Regions from separate parts of the Homo sapiens genome. Here region 1 is linked to region 2. Evidence: promoter capture Hi-C in 16 types of primary human blood cells and fetal thymus (Javierre and others, 2016). All regions are on one chromosome and are shown on one strand. The core of a region is centred on a gene start or on the middle of the fragment in contact, and the rest is flanking DNA. Distances in the headings are between cores, read along the strand shown.

Region 1 (3,239 bases), core at 196-2,695, 490 kb before region 2:
TGGATTATAATTATTATTATTTTTTTTTAAAAAAAAGGAAAAGATCCTGATGTCCAGGCCACTCCCAGACCAATGAAATCAGAGTCTCTGAGGGTGGAGTTCACGCATCAGCGCGTGGCCCTGGTGATGACTAAGTGCAGCCAAGTTGCAGTTTATTATAAGGCAGTTCATAGATGCTGCTGCTGCTGCTGCTAGCATTTCATCTGCTGAGAATCACACTCAGTAGCAACAGCCGTCCAAGATACAGCCCTGCGGGGCTTTGAGTGTTAACGTTGGGTGCATAGTGATGAGGCTTTTTTAAAGCCTTGAAACGGGGCCAACTGGTAATACCTAAGGAACGTAAGTACCATTCAGTGTGTTTGTGTAAGCCCTGGCTATGAGGGGAGGGGCGAGTGGGGGAAGCACATGATGTTAAACTAGGCTAATGGGTTTAATTTTCCTTTGTTTTCCTAGATTTCCTGGCAAACAGAAAAAGCTCTCTTGGTCTTTAAAGTTCATGACAGATTCCCTAAGTGTTTGTAAAACATCTGCCAACCACACTGATGGGCTCTCACACAAAGGTTTTGGAAATACAGACTGATTTCCTTTGGTTACTAAAACTGATTTTTTTTTTTTTTTTTGGTTACTACAATTGATTTTATCTCTATAATTTTCTTCTCTGTCATCTTATTTTAAACAAAAACCGTGGCACAAAAATAAAGTGATGGTTTTTGAGGAAAACATATCTATTTGTTTTTCTTTTTGTATCTTCAGCCAAAACATCTAAGGAATAATAATGAAAATAATAGAAAATCTTTTGCACTGGGAAATTGTTTCCCTCTGTTTTTAGCCTTCATTTATTTTTTTGCCAGAGCTTCATATCTTTTCAGAGATTCATGTGCATAACAGTTTTAAATGTTTTCCAAAATGAACTTCTCCAGCTGAATCTCAGAGAAGAAAGCTTTGTTAATGGCAACAATTCATTTAAGATTAATATGAAGCTTTCTGGATGATTGTTGGTGATGTCATATGAACCATTAGGGTGGTGCAAAAGTAATTGCAGTTTTGCCATTAAAAGCAATTATTTTTGCACAAACCTAATACCAAAACATCTAATGTCAAACTATGGTCCATTTCTATTATATTTCCCAAGACAATTAAATTAGTATATAATTTTTTTCATAGATTTTCAGTTTATAATATGTAGTGAAATTAAATAATTATCTAGAATAGCATTGCTAATTGTGACATTACTTAAATATTTATGAAAAATAAACTTTGATCTGGCATTTCACTCACAGCTGGTCAAGGCTAGTAAAAGATGAGATTCTAAATTTCACAGCTGGAGGCCTACATTTCGATCTTTATACAAGATTTAATGAAATTCACAGTGACATTTTTAGTTATTTTGATACATTCTCAACCAAGTAGGAGTACAAGATCTATAAGTGAGGGTCTAGTAAATTATTTGATATGAAAAGGGGTCCGTGTACTTCATAATAATTAGTCATAACAAGTGCTATGGCATTTATTGAGCATCTGTGTGTGGACATTTTGTTATTGTAGATATTTTCTATTAACCTGATATTAATGCATGTCTTTACACCCAACCCTCCAAGGGATACTATGCAAATGCTTTAACATCTGGCATTTGTTGAAAAATAGCAGAGATTTTAAAGAATGGCACTGAGAAAGTCTTGCCACGTTTTTATGGAAATCCATTCTGGAAGCATTTCTTTCCATTATATGTCTTGTCTATTTCATATTGAAAGCCCTTTTATCACAGCTTCAATTTGCGTTAGTATTTTACCATCAAAGATGAACTTAGCCAGTGCAATGACAACATGATAAAAACATAAAATGATACAATGATTCTTCTTGTTTATCACTTACCCTGTCTCATTAAGCCACTTACCACAAAAGAAGCTTGAGATTTCTTAGGAGCAAGATTTTAGAATTCTTAGGACTCAGCCTTTCTGAGCCAGTGGCAGGATAGTTGCTTCTAAAGAGGCTGTGTGTGTAGGTGCTGGAGGGGTTAGGTCTCCAGGAGGGACAAGATGGGCAGCTGGAAATAAATTCAGAATCCTGCCTCTGTTGTAGCAAAACTCTCCATTCTCTTTCTCACCTTTTCTCAGAACCTGCTTACATAACTGTGGTTAACCTATATGCGTAAGCATGATTAAAAAGATTGACACAGCCTGGCAGTCTTTTCTGTGCTATGCACCCAGGAGCACAGCCCTTGGGCCTGAAGCATTGGCAGCGGGCTCTGGCTCTGTGTGTGGCGCAGGTCAGTCCGGCCTGCCTGCCAATTACTCAGTAGTTATGTCCAGGGAGAAGCAAGCCATGCTTGTTAGGCAGATTGCTGCACTCTGAGCACAAAAATGTCAAGGGCACATAATTACTCCTAATGCAAAAACATAGAAAAGCTGCAATTAAAAGGCAGTGGAGCAGTGCCTTTCTTATTTCTGGAGAGACTGGAAATTACAGTAAGGCAGCACACTGGGCTTTCTCTGCCTCCTAGTATACACAAATATTTTCAATTAATTACAACGTGTAATGGTATATTTATTTTTGGATCTCCTGTCTCCCCATAGGCTTCATGTGAGCAAAGACCACATGTCTGGCTTGTTCACCACTGCACACTCCCAGGACATGGTAGGAATTCAGTGACTATTTAATGAATGGATGACCACGGTATTTCAGTTTTAGGAAAGAATTTCCAAATACATTTTTCCCCATTCATTGAGTCCTTATTTAACCAAGTTAACTAGACAATACGTCCTCTACATTGTTCATGGGGAATTACTGAGCCAGACCTGGGGGAAATGACATAATATCCTATTAATTTTTTTTAAAAAATTATTTTTAATGTTCGTGGGTATATAATAGGTATACATATTTATGGGTTACATGACATATTTTGATATAGGCATGCAATGCCTAATAATCACATCAGGGTAAATGGGGTATCCATCCCCTCAAGCATTTATCCTTTGTGTTACAAACAATCCATTTATATTATTTTAGTTACTTTAAAATGTACAATTACATTATTTTTTGCTATAGTCACCCTGTTGCGCTAGCCAATACTAAGTCTTATTCATCCTATTTTTTTGAACCGATTAACCATCCCCATTTCCACCTACTCCACCACTACCCTTTCCAGCCTCTGGTAACCATCCTTTTACTATCTCAATGAGTTCAATTATTTTAATTTTTAGCTCCCACAAATAAGTGAGAACATATGAAGTTTGTGTTTC
Region 2 (3,133 bases), core at 475-2,974:
ACAAAAAAAATTAGCCGGGCGTGGTGGTGGGCGCCTCTAATCCCAGCTACTTGGGAAGCTGAAGCAGGAGAATCACTTGAACCTGGGAGGCGGAGGTTGCAGTCAGCCAAGATCGCACCACTGCACTCCACCCTGGGGAACAGAGGGAGGCTCCCTCTCAAAAAAGGACAGTTTCTCATTAACACAGACCAACAGTAAAATTTTTTAAGTCACTACTGAATTGAGGGCCTACATTATACTTTCACCTTCTGTAAGCACCAGTGTTACAGTGGCCAGATAGCTTATCATCCAAATCGAGACACTTCTGAAAGTGAAAGGCCCTGCTGTTGATCATTAAACCTGTTCAACAGTGCGAACTGGGACTATGCAGTCACCTTAAGTATAGTGGAAGCCATGATTTTCTTGTATTATTACATGAGAAACAATGAATCTCCTCCACCTGCCACTCTGGAAAGACCTGGGCTAAAGAAATGAACGCCCTCCTCTGTGAACAAACCAGAAATGGGCACATCATCACGCTGACTTGTTAATTTCCAGTGCTAGGAAGTGGCTGCCCCACTTTTGAAGTATTTGGCTCCCAAATCAACTGCTCCAGATATTCCACTCTGACAAGAGGTGCTAGTAAGTGCCACGAAGACCCTCCCTACAGACAGGAATTCCATGTGCGCACACAGACTTCAGGCCTCTTAGGGCAGACCAAATGACAAAATTATAAAAAACCATTTGAATTAGAAAAACATCATTCTGTTTACATGACAAAATGATCTGAAAGTGTCTATACCATTACCTAAATGAGATGGGATTCCTATCATCTGGGCCTTTAACTACCACGCCAGTAGCTCCACCAGATCGAACAGCAAAAACCTGAGAGGGAAAAGCAGCAAGGTTAACAGCCTGAACTCTGAAAGGATCTAAACTCAGAAGCCAACCCGCAAGCGATTATTTCTGTTATACACCACCCTGGGTTCAACTAAAGTAACACGGCACATATCAAGGTACAGATGTTTGGCTGCTCAGGTGAATTTTAAAAACCAAGAGCAGAGAGCGAAAAGGATGCCACCGTGACACCGGGTCGGGTTCCCGAGGCTCCAAGTTCTAACACCGGTTCGCGCATCGGCGCCGCTGATACGCCTGAAGTACAGTCTTTTCCCCCTTTACAAAATTTCAAGGAAAATGAAAATCTCGACGTCTAAACCCTTGACTACGAGTGTAACTAATGACAAACACAACAAAAGAAGCCTAGATAAGACGGGCGCGCCAACAATTGAGACACTGGCCACGGGGCCACTGCATCCGCGCAGCTGGCTCGGGGGTCCAGCCCCGAGGTCACCTGCGAGGACACCTGGCCGCGGCTGAGCCCACCCAACAAGGAAGGAGCGCGCGCCGCCTCCCGCGCTGGGACGGGACGGGACAGGACAGGAGGGGACGCTCGGGCCTGGTCGCGCGGGACCGGCCTTGGCGCGCCCACGACCCCGGCAGGGCCGCGCGGGGGAGGAAGCGCGGGCGCGCCGGACCTGCTTGTTGGCCTCATCGAAGAAGACGCAGTTGACAGGGTTCGCCTTCTCGAACTGCACCGGCCGCTCGCACAGCTCCAGATAGTAGTCCTCCTCGCCCATGGCGGGCGCCGCGCCCGCGGCGGGGGCCCCGGGGGCGGTCGCCAGAGTGGAGCAGGATGCGCGGTGGAGCCCGGCCCGGACTGTAGCGGCGGCTGCGGCTGCGGCTCTGGGCCCGGCGCGGACGCCGCTTCCTGGTGCCACGCCCCCACCCCGCCCACCACGTGACCCGCGGCCCTCTGCGCTTAAACGGGCAGCGTCTGGCTGCGGTGGGGCCCACCGGCCTTAACCACGCCCCGCCCGGCGCTGGAGGCTCCTCCCCTCTCCCCGAGGGCGGTCGGAACGCGGCGGCGTGACCCGGAAGCCCGCGTGGTTCCCCGCGGACCGAGGGCGGCGTAGCCGCCAACCCTACCCTGCTGCGAGTTCCTGTGCCCGGCTCGGTCGCCCCTGCCCCAACCTGTACCCCCGCGTGGGACCGCTCCCGGTCTAGGAAAGGCTCCTCCTTGCTTTCGGGAGGATTTCCCAAGTGCCTCCCGCGCCAGAGTTCCAGCCTCTGGGAGCTTCGTCAGGGAGAAGGGGCTGAAGGCTCACTGAGCAGGTGTAGGGGCGCCAGAGACCGTCTCCAGTCCCCTCAGCGCTTCTGCGGGCTCTTCCGCTGGAGCCAGAAACCGAATTGACAAGAGGCAGATAAACAAAAGAAAAGCATACACACTTTATTAGTTTTTCATGGGGACCTTCAAAAGAGAGTGAGGTCTGAAGAAGTGGCCACAGCAAGATGCTTTTATACTTTTTAGACAAAGAATGATGCATTTGAGAAGAAAGCACAAAAGGCATCTGGCTGGGGCGATACATTTCTAAGAGAGTCACTAGGAGAAATATTGGGGAGGGTGTAAAATTAGTGGAAGGTAAGTGTTACTTGGGAAGTTCATTTATTCAGGTCCATTGCAGCCCCAACTCCCAGTCTCTGGTGATAAGGGCTATTTTCTGACCCGGGTACAGAGAGGGTGCCACTCCCAGAGGAATCTTTACTGCTTATTCCCTGTAGGAAACGACAGGTCATCTAGCCCTTTCTGAAACTACAATTTCTCCGGTGTTTTTAGCTCAAAATAATATACCAATTTTTGGACATATTTTGGGATAGCACATCCTTCACTCCTTGCTAGTAACAGGGAAACCTAATATAGATTGTGGGTCAGCAAGCCTTTTTACTTGATAAGAAACATGAAATTTACCATGTTAGCCCCTCTTTTTTTGTTTGTTTCAGAGACAGAGTGTCTCTGTGCCCAGGCTGGAGAGCAGTGATGCGAACACGGCTCACTGCAGTCTCAACCTCCCATCTCAGCCTCACAAGTAGCTGGGACCACGGGTGCATGCCACCACACCTGGCTCATTTTTTTATTATTATGCTTTGTAGAGACAGCGTTCTCTGTTGCCCAGGCTGGTCTCAGACTCCTGGCCTCAAGTGATTCTCTCGCTGACCGTGCTCAGCCCCCATGTTAACCCTTTATTTTTATTGTTTATTTTATTTTATTTTGAGACGGAATTTCGTTCTTGTTGCCCAGGCTGGAGTGCAATGGCCC

What was found. Contacts are between HindIII fragments. The CHiCAGO score rates a contact against its expected background, and 5 or more counts as called.
Region 1: a fragment that was not itself captured here is called in contact with the fragment with the promoter of RMC1 in region 2 in 1 of 17 cell types (total CD4 T cells); the score reaches 5.9 in total CD4 T cells.

The regions. Positions count from the first base shown.
Region 1 is chr18:23,991,694-23,994,932 of GRCh38, reverse strand. It overlaps TTC39C-AS1 (TTC39C antisense RNA 1), which reads left to right. Exons shown (of 6, transcript NR_110796.1): 6 at 454-720. It also overlaps a transcript of TTC39C not described here. Among named protein-coding and RNA genes, the nearest start is that of LINC02958, 11 kb to the right of the region's middle. RefSeq lists a silencer at 369-428. The HindIII fragment of the contact is 925 bases long and covers 983-1,907 here.
Region 2 is chr18:23,502,102-23,505,234 of GRCh38, reverse strand. It overlaps RMC1 (regulator of MON1-CCZ1), which reads right to left and starts at 1,724. Exons shown (of 20, transcript NM_013326.5): 1 at 1,515-1,724; 2 at 788-864. The coding sequence starts at 1,616. RefSeq lists an enhancer at 1,013-1,112 and a silencer at 1,363-2,012. The HindIII fragment of the contact is 15,374 bases long and covers 1-3,133 here.